Regions from separate parts of the Homo sapiens genome. Here region 2 is linked to region 1. Evidence: promoter capture Hi-C in 16 types of primary human blood cells and fetal thymus (Javierre and others, 2016). All regions are on one chromosome and are shown on one strand. Each heading gives the region's core, a stretch centred on a gene start or on the middle of the fragment in contact. The rest is flanking DNA. Distances are from core to core; before and after follow the strand shown.

Region 1 (4,814 bases), core at 1,421-3,920:
CACCACTGCACTCCAGCTTGAGCAACTGAGCGAGACTCCATCTCAAAAACAAAAACAAACAAACAAAAACACCAAGTTTAGAATTCTGTATGCTTATACCTGAAACTAAAATGTTAATATGTTTACATAGCTAAGAGAAACCAAATTATAATAGTACTGATATATGAAACACGAAGAGTCTGTGGTTTTTAAATTTACCCCTTATCACAGCCAAAAAAAATCTGATTTATAGCAAGCTTTATAAAAGCACTTCTAATGTGCACCGAAGTTTAGTTCTGTGGGACTAGTTACTAACTAGCTGTAGCACCTCCTAGGGTTGATCTTAAAGATGAACCTGTCTTCTTCAATGTGGTTTACCACTGGCAGCCATCCTTTTACTGCAAACCTGCCATCAATTAATTTATATTTTCGTATACACATTCAGAAAACAAAACAACAATAAAAAAAGAAAATCATACAACTTCCTGAAAATTAAGAGTGGCTTTCTACTAATTAAAAAGTTGAAAATCTAAAATTAGTGAATGCTTAGGTATTATTTTAACATACGTGATTGAGGGGATGGGTGGTTGGGGGGCTGGCTAAATACAAAACTAAGGAAGCAAAAAGAAGAAAAGTGGTTCACGTTTCCATACTGTCACATACCAATCTCATCACTGTCAAAGTCATCTGAGTATTCAGAACTCCTTTGTCTGGCTGAGCGAGCTGTAATTGCTCTTATTAGCTCATCCTGAAATGAGATACTGAAATCAATTTCCATCCAAACATGGAGGTATCATATTCACAAGTAATTCTTTAAACAAACAATGCTTGATTAACGACTGCTTTCAAACTTAGGTTTCATTCATCTAACAAATATTTCCTGCAAGCTCACTTTATGCCATGTACCCACTTTACGCCTCATACTCAATGCAGAGCATCACAGACAAGAGCCCTTCCTCATGGAGCTCGCAGTTTAACTAGAGGAGACACACATTATGGAACAAATTAATTGCAGGTTATAATTAGAGCTGGAGGGTAACAAATAAGAAGGGGCTCAATTTAGATTATAATTTATTAAAAACTGGTATTTTGAAAGAAATTGGTATTTTTAAGAGCTTTTGTCTCGGCATATTTCAGAAATGGATGCAATCAATATTGCAAACTTAGAGGCTGAGTTCAAAATTGCAGTGACTCAACAGAAAAAAAAACTTAAACATTATGTTACAACAGAAAAAAAAGTTTTTATATAAAAATGGCAATTTAAGGTTGCGATTCAACTTTTAACTTAGTAGGAAACTAGTATTGAGGCTACTTTGGTAGTCTTAAAACCATATAGGGGAGTTTGTAATACTGGATGGAGCCCAAACATGATCATGTGCAAAACCTCAAAAGTAATATAAGATTTACCCCTGCTTTATATAGGACTGTTCTAGAATCACCAATTTCAACCCATCTAATACAGTGTTTACACTGTGAAATGATTCCAAATAAAAATACTTTACCTGGAAAGTAGTTCTTTTGGTAACTTTTGGACTCTTTGTATATGCCAAAGTGGTGCTAAAAACTTCATCAGACATAGTGTATTTTTTCTCGTTACCTTTATAAAATAGCTAATTATTAGAATTCAACTTCTGATAGTAGCTGAAATATACAAAACAAATCAGACTTCGCATGCTTCAGAATTTATTTTATTACATTTGATTCTACTCTCCCCACAAAGGTCAAAGAAAAGCATCTGATATGAACATTGGGCTACATCTTCACTTAAAAAGGTTCTTGTAAAGAAATAGCAAATTCTCATAACAAGCTTGTTTAAAAAAATTCAAATGGAAGTTATCCTAAAATAGTTTTGCAACTACTTAAAAAGTCTGCAAATAAATGATTACAAGTTAATACGACAAAATGCTGCCAATTAAAATAGAACACCTTATTTTTCACCTCTCTTCTAAAGTATAACATTGCCTTCAAAATAAGTCACGTCTTATTTAAAAGGCCATCAAAAGGATCGTCGGCGTAAAAATTATGAGCACCACCACCAAAAAAAAAATGTATCTATATATTTGCATACAGCGCTATTCAAAGAAAAAGATCGTAATGCTAACCCGCAAACAGCCAGCGAGATGTATTGCAAGCCAATTTTTCCTCTCACAAAAGTGTTAAAGAGAGCCAGACAAAACGACGAAGCTTTCGCGATGAGCCGCATTAAAATCGCGGTTTCCCGTACTCGGAGCAGAGGCCTGGCAGGGCCGCCCATAGCGTTGTGCGCCCCGGGTTCCGTTCCCTACCAGGCCAGGTGACGTCCGGGTGCTCGCCGCTCCTCACCGCGCCGTATGCTGAGCACCAGCGAACGCCAGGCCCGTGCACGTCCAAGCGCGGTCTCTGTCCGGATCCCCCATGGCCCCCAGGTCCCGCTTTCTGTTCCCGGCCCCGGACGCCCGCGGCCAGTTCTCCGCGACCCTGAGAATCAAGAGCCAAGCATCGGGTAGGAGCTGCTCACCTTGGTCTGGGCCTGGCGGCGCCCGCAGAGCCGGTCCTGGACCGAGCGAGGAGGAGGGGCTAATAACAGAGGCGGAGGGCGGTTGCTAGGAAACAGCGTCTTCGGGAGGAAGTGACTTCCCCACCGCCGGGTCTCTCGGGTACCCAACACCGCTCTTCGGCCCAACGTGTCGCTGGGGCAACCACCCAGACGAAGGAAGTGACATCACCTTCCTGGGTCTTTGGAGAGGGGCTCATTATTGGTCGCTTGTGTGCATGTGCTGTTGCCTAGGAGACAGGACCCGCCCAACTCCCACCCAGATAGCCTTACTCTTGCCAATAGAGTAAGGGTCCTTATCTGCACGTGTTGCAAATAAAGCACATTCGTCGTTTTGCCACAGTTAGGACGTGAAGTTCTCTGAATCGAAGTACGGTGTCAGTGGATGGGACAGAATAGTACGGTAGTGAGTTTGCAGAACCCTGTTTCCGACTGCAGGTTTGAATCCTGGTACCCCTTTCCTACACACGTGATTGTCCCAAGTTAAGGTCTTTATGACTCAGTTTCTTCTTCTGGGGGAAAACAAAAGTGTACTAATAATAGACACCTGAAAGGTTGCTGTAAAATTGAATGAAATAATACAAGTGGAACACTTGGAAGAGTGCCTGGAATTGTATTCGATATTAGATATGCTCTTCATGCAACTAAGCCGCAAAGGGCCTGGAGAGACCTCAGCTCTTGTGGACACAACTGAAAGCCCATTTGACATCTTACTTGAATGTAAAACTCCCCCTCTTTGTATACTTAGTGAGTAATCTTATTCCAATCAAACCAAACAAAATGATCCACTAGGCTAAAAGAGCATGTGCTACTAAAGTAAACAAAATCAACATCATTTAATTCGCATAGGAAATTCTTAAAGCAAATAAAAACCAAAAACGTTTATTGAAAGTCTTTAAAATAATATGAATTTTTACTATTTTTAATTTTTAAAAAGCTTAATCCTAGTTGAATTATCTGAATGAATTCATTGACTAGTAATTAAACTCATACCTGGTATTTTTTCCACATCTCTAAAATATGTTAATATTTCACTAATTCAATTTTGTATAAACAAATCACATTGAGATAGAAATTTAATAAATCAATGTATTGAAAAACTAAATGTGCATAACAAGAAATAAGAAATTTAGTAAAATACAATGCTGTATTAATCAGGGTTCTCTAGATGGACAGAACTAATAGTATATATATATTATATTATATATATTATATAATATATTATATATATAATATATATTATATAATATATTATATATATATGTCCACTCATCTGTATCCATTTATGAAGCTGAAAATGTACACCACCTCTACACACACATACCCAGAATAGAAAATGCTCCCTATTTTCTATTAACTCATGGCACTACTGTTGAACCCTTCCAGGTTCACCTCATGCTCCTGGAACCTCCTTTCCACTGTAAAACATTCTCTCACTTTTTCCTCTATAATCGCATTCTTATCTTAGCTAAGCAAAACTATTTTCTGAATAAACTATCTCCCTGAGGGCTTTTCAAATAGGGACTGCTGTAGAAGGAAGATTTCTAAGTTCTCCTAGGTCCTCACATACTCAGTGACTGCTCTCCTATTACTCCAAACCCTTCCTCCTCACAAGCCAATATTCTATGTTCTATTTCTCAGTTTCTGTCATCAATAGATATATAGGCCCTTCTCCCACATTCACTGAATATCTACAGCCAACCTATCCAATACCTGAGATCACACCAAGGTATGGTGTGGCCATGTTCCATTCAATAGAATTCTTTGCTCAATACTCCAAGACTTTCACTTGTCCATACCCCTAATTGTGGGGCTCCGTACTGGAAGTCTTAAACTGTAATACTCCACTCCAAAAGGCCCATGGCTTCCTTTTTTAGTTATTCTTCTCTTGTTATTTCTATTTAGGAACTCATCAAGACATCTAGACTCTTTTTTTTTTTTTTTACTTTTTCTTTCTTTCTTTTTTTTTTAATGCATGTATCTCATCTAAGATGTCCAGACTCTTGAGCTTTTCACATCTTCCCCCAATTTATCAGTTGCTCTCTTTGCTTCCTGCTTCCCTTTCCTAGCTAGCCCAAGTCCCACAATGTAGCTTATGGAGTTCTTTCTTCAGCACTTTCAACTTTCTCACTTCATCATTCCTCTGGGACACAAAACTTGTCCATTGATCATCCAAATTCTTTGACCCAACGTATTTCAGAGTAATAGTGCATCAATCCCAGCTTACAATTTTATTTTATTTTTAGAGACAGGATCTCACTTTTTTTGCCCACTACTGGGCTCAAGCGATCCTCCTGCCTCC
Region 2 (4,627 bases), core at 1,472-3,971, 3.3 Mb after region 1:
CACTCAGGCCCAAAAATTATGCATTTTTTTGTTTGTTTGTTTGTTTGTTTGTTTGTTTGAGGCAGAGTCTCACTCTGTCGCCCAGGATGGAGTGCAGTGGCGTGATCTCGGCTCACTGCAAGCTCCACCTTCTGAGTTCATGCCATTCTACTGCCTCAGCCTCCCGAGTAGCTGGGACTACAGGCGCCCACCATCACACCCGGCTTATTTTTTGTATTTTTAGTAGAGACGGGGTTTCACCGCGTTAGCCAAGATGGTCTCGATCTCCTGATCTCGTGATTCACCCGCCTCAGCCTCCCAAAGTGCTGGGATTACAGGCGTGAGCCACTGCGCCCGGTCTATGCATAACTTTTTTGTCACCAGGCAATGAAGCTACCTAAGGTTGGTTGACTACGGCCTTCCTTTCTCAATCAAATCATCTTAGAGTGAAGGAGAATGAGAGGATGGGTAAAGCTAGGGGAGTCCATTTCTCTATAGATAAACCTTAGTACCATAAGTAATTCCACCTCGCACAGCCTAACCTTTACGAAACTGCGTTACTGCCTCAGACATGGACGCTAATAGTACTTTTTAAGCTTCACTTCCTACTTAGTGTTTTCTTCCCCAAATCCTAAAGAACAGGACTTGTCTGTATGAAGAATAACAAGATTAAGAAAATTTACACATACTTCGATGAAAAGGGCATCCTTTGAAATGGAGAGGTTTCCCAGTCGTGTGTCCAATGCCTTTTTCTCCTGTACACAGTGCACGAAAATTTTCCGCAGTTTTGGGTACGATATCTGCAAACAATTCTAAGACAATTCGACCAACTAAAAGAAAAGAAAATCTTGTCAGTATGCAAAACAACCAAATAGACAAATGATAAAAAGAAGGTTGGTATAATTATGGTAGCAGATCAATCATGAATTACCAAGTTCCCCTTTACTGTAATTTTTCTTTTTTGCAATTTCAAGAACACAACACATTGCTACTAACTATAGTCATTATGTTATACAATAGATCTCTTAAATTTATTCCCCCTTTCTAACTGAAATTAGGTCTCTCGTGATCAACATCTACCCAACCCCTGAAATCCACCATTCCATTCTCTACTTCAAGGTCAACTTTTTAGAAACCACATGTAAGTGAGATCATGCCTTGTCTTCCTGTGCCCAGCTTATTTCATGTAACATAATGTCCTCCATATTAATTCATGTTGTCAGAAGTGACAAGATTTCATTATTTTTTATGGGTGAATAGTACTCCACTGTGCACATATATCAAATTTTAAAAAAAATCCATCTGTAGATGGAAACCTAGTTTGATTCCATTATCTTGGCTATCATGAATAATGCTGCAATGAACATGGGAGTGCAGATACCTCTTTGACATACAAACTTCATTTCCTTTGAATATACTCACTAGAATTAGTGAATCTTATTTTATTCTAATATTCAAATTTAGTCTACCTACTGTCATGTATGTATATAAACAGATTTGAAACATTACACTAAGGATCATAACCAATTATAGTAGCCAAAAGATTAGCACCATGTAAGAGATATCATTAAATACAAATAGTTTTAAATCCTGAGTAATTTCTTCAAGAGGTACTGAGAATTTCCAATCACCAAGCAACCAACGGGAGAAAATTAAACAGTCTTTGGGTGGGCGGACTTGCCACGTGTTACGTATACCTGCAGCCTTTGTGCTCTGAGCAAACTGCCTCATGCAACCTCTGAAGCAAAAGCTGTAAAAATTCCTCCTCTAGATAGCAGCTAAGACAGGTGAGATTAAACCTAGCCCTAGCTAGTTGCAACAAACTGAATGTACGTGTAAACGTGTGTGTGTCCTGTACATGCATTCAAACACATTGCCTGGCCAGCAATTCCAACGTGTTCCAGAACAAGGCCAATCCAGTTACAAAGCAACACGCTCCCTAATTCACCAGGCCTTAGGAACTTCTGAGCGGCTATGTAACCTAGGCAACACCATCACTACGTTGAGCGCATTTTCCCAATGGCAAATTAAGAGAAAATGTTTGCTCATCTGAACGGACCTCTAAATTAAGAATCAGTAATAAGGCAAAAGCAATGAGCAAACAAGTCCCTTTAACGTATAAATAACACAGCACGTGCTGATATATTATCTCATGTGGCAAATATAGTTTCCTGGGGCCCAGCAGACGCATATCCCAGGATATGCTTTCCGAACTGTCCCATTGCAAACATAAAATATTTCATGCTAACTTGGTAGTGCAAAGGTGGCGTGGAAGTGCCACCAAATCAGGAGGCAAACCTAAAGGACGCCACAATTCCCGAACTAGAAATTTCCAGAAACTTCCGCACCACCGATGGCATTGATACAAGGGCGCTGGATCGATCTAGCCCTAGATCTCCGGGCCTGCTCCGGCGGACCAGCCTAGGCAGCCATCCCCTCCGCGAAACTGAGCAGTCACCGGCCGGAGCCGCATTCCGCCCTTGGAATCCCCCAAATCCCGGGAACCCCCGCCTCCTCGGGGCTTTTCCGCGAGCGTCAGACTCCGCTCACCTCGCTCCCCTCCGATGTCCACGTCAAAGAAGACTCGAGGGTTACTGGGGTTGGAGGGCTTGGCTTGGGGGGACGGGTGCGACATCTTGACTTGCAGACGTGTTTAGTACGGAATATCAGAGTACCTAGTGGCCGCCCGGGCCGCCCAAACTCCAGAGTCCGTCTCCGCCGGAGACCGGCAGCGACGCTGACCGGCCACTTCCGACGCAAGAACCGGAAGCCATGGCCTGACTTCCGGCACCGCCCCGCTCCCCCGCGCGGTGTTTCAAAGAGCCTGAGCGACTCCGTGCAGCGAACCGCGTGCCCTCCGCCACCTGTTCCTGGCTTCTCATTTAATGAAGTTGCGATCCCAGTTCTCATTATTCTTCTCGCTTGTGTTTCGTTGTCTTTCCCACCCTCGTGGCGTAGAGAGCTTTGGAGTCAACCCCATGCCAGCGTCAGCTCTGCCACCAAGTTGGGTGTGACTTCTCAGAAACTCAGTTTGCTCCTCTGGAAAAAGAATAAAAACGCTGACCTCGGAAGGTCGTTTTGAGGATTAAAGACATGAATCAGTACAATGCCTGGCATAAACTGGTGGTACCCAACCAATAGGAGCCTTATTATTGCCATGTCGTTACAATTTGATCTTCACATTACAATGTAAGTGGTAAGGCTTAGACTAAACGCTCCAAACAGCTAAAGCTGAGAGTCCAGAAGAGAGCACAGTTTTGATTCCTGATAAAACTGTATTTGGCGGGGCGCGGTGGCTCACGCCTGTAGTCCCAGCACATTGGGAGGCCGAGGCGGGCGGATCATTTGAGGTCAGGAGTTCGAGACCAGCCTGACCAACATGATGAAACCCGTCTCTACTAAAAATAAAAAAAAAAAAAATCACCCGGGCGTGGTGGTGCTTGCCTGTAGTCCCAGCTACTCGGGAGGCTGAGGCAGGAGAATCGCTTGAACCCGGGAGGCGGCGGTTGCAGTGAACCGAGATCGCGCCACTGTACTCCAGACTGGGTGACAGAGCGAAACTGTCCCCCCCCCCCCCAAAAAAAAGAAAAACAAAAAAATACTGTATTACTATAGCCCACTTTTCCCTTATGGGGATCTGTGTAAAACATTTACTTTTTACACACACACACACACACACACACACACACACACACACACATATATATGAGGAGAACATAGCCTTGCCTCTTAATAAAGCCTAATTTTGGAGAAGAGTGGCAATTCCCTGTGTAGATGCTTTGCCCTGTAGTTCTATTGGAGCTCAGCAATTTGGATTCAGCCTGAGGCTTACTTTATCAATAAGGCAGGAGATATCCTTAGATGCTTCACATTTTTTTTTCTTATGAGAAAGTAAAAAGTATTGGAATCCAGCACTCAAATAATGTCTCAAAAGCCAGGAGCCTTGTGTCAACAGCAGCAGCCAGAGTGGCTTTTTGGAAGGAAAGACCAGTGCTAATTTTCCCCTATCAGAGCTGTCACCATCCCTCTAGATGAAGGCTCCTGCCCTACTTGCTACCCGGTCTTAGGATAAGTAAAAGTTAGAAGGGTTACGGTTAAAGAACAACTGATTCCTATTCTCAATTTGAATTTGCCTGTGATGTTATACACTGGACTAAGCACGAAAGTTGATGTTAAAAAAGAAAAAAAAAAAAGCAAAAGCTTCAAGTTCTGACTACATGTATACTAGGCATGTTACCAAAGAAAAGTCATTTAATTTCTCTGAACCCTTCTCATTTCCTTTTCGGTAAAGTGCCAAAGAACAGGGTATGAGAATGGAAAAAGATAATGTGTAAGCATTTGCCTTGTAATCTCTAAAGCATTCTTATACACTCTTTTTTAAATTACTGAAAATTAGATGCTATAGTGCCTGAAGTTGTTTTAAAATAACCTGGAGTCAGGTAAGTGGGTTGGGTTGTGGATGAAACATAAGGGCCAGGCAGATGATTGGTGCATGGGAGTTTATTATACTACTCTTCTTTATTTTGCACATTTAAATTTTTTCATAATATTTTAAAAAGTAAAAGAGAAATTACATGTATTACTAGCTACTCATAATAAAACCAATTTGTTGGCCGGGTGTGATGGCTCACGCCTGTAATCCCAGCAC

Evidence for each region. The method cuts DNA at HindIII sites, captures the fragments that hold promoters and counts their contacts. A CHiCAGO score of 5 or more calls a contact.
Region 2: a contact is called between the fragment with the promoter of PPID here and the fragment with the promoter of MAP9 in region 1, in 5 of 17 cell types (non-activated CD4 T cells, total B cells, total CD8 T cells and 2 more). The highest score is 10.1, in non-activated CD4 T cells.

The regions. Positions count from the first base shown.
Region 1 is chr4:155,374,295-155,379,108 of GRCh38, forward strand. MAP9 (microtubule associated protein 9) reads right to left here and starts at 2,671. Exons shown (of 14, transcript NM_001039580.2): 1 at 2,477-2,671; 2 at 1,482-1,620; 3 at 643-727. The coding sequence starts at 1,556. RefSeq lists an enhancer at 2,124-2,553. The HindIII fragment of the contact is 1,286 bases long and covers 2,162-3,447 here.
Region 2 is chr4:158,720,675-158,725,301 of GRCh38, forward strand. It overlaps PPID (peptidylprolyl isomerase D), which reads right to left and starts at 2,722. Exons shown (of 10, transcript NM_005038.3): 1 at 2,530-2,722; 2 at 669-809. The coding sequence starts at 2,614. RefSeq lists enhancers at 2,132-2,715, 2,349-2,828, 2,716-3,300. The HindIII fragment of the contact is 3,604 bases long and covers 574-4,177 here.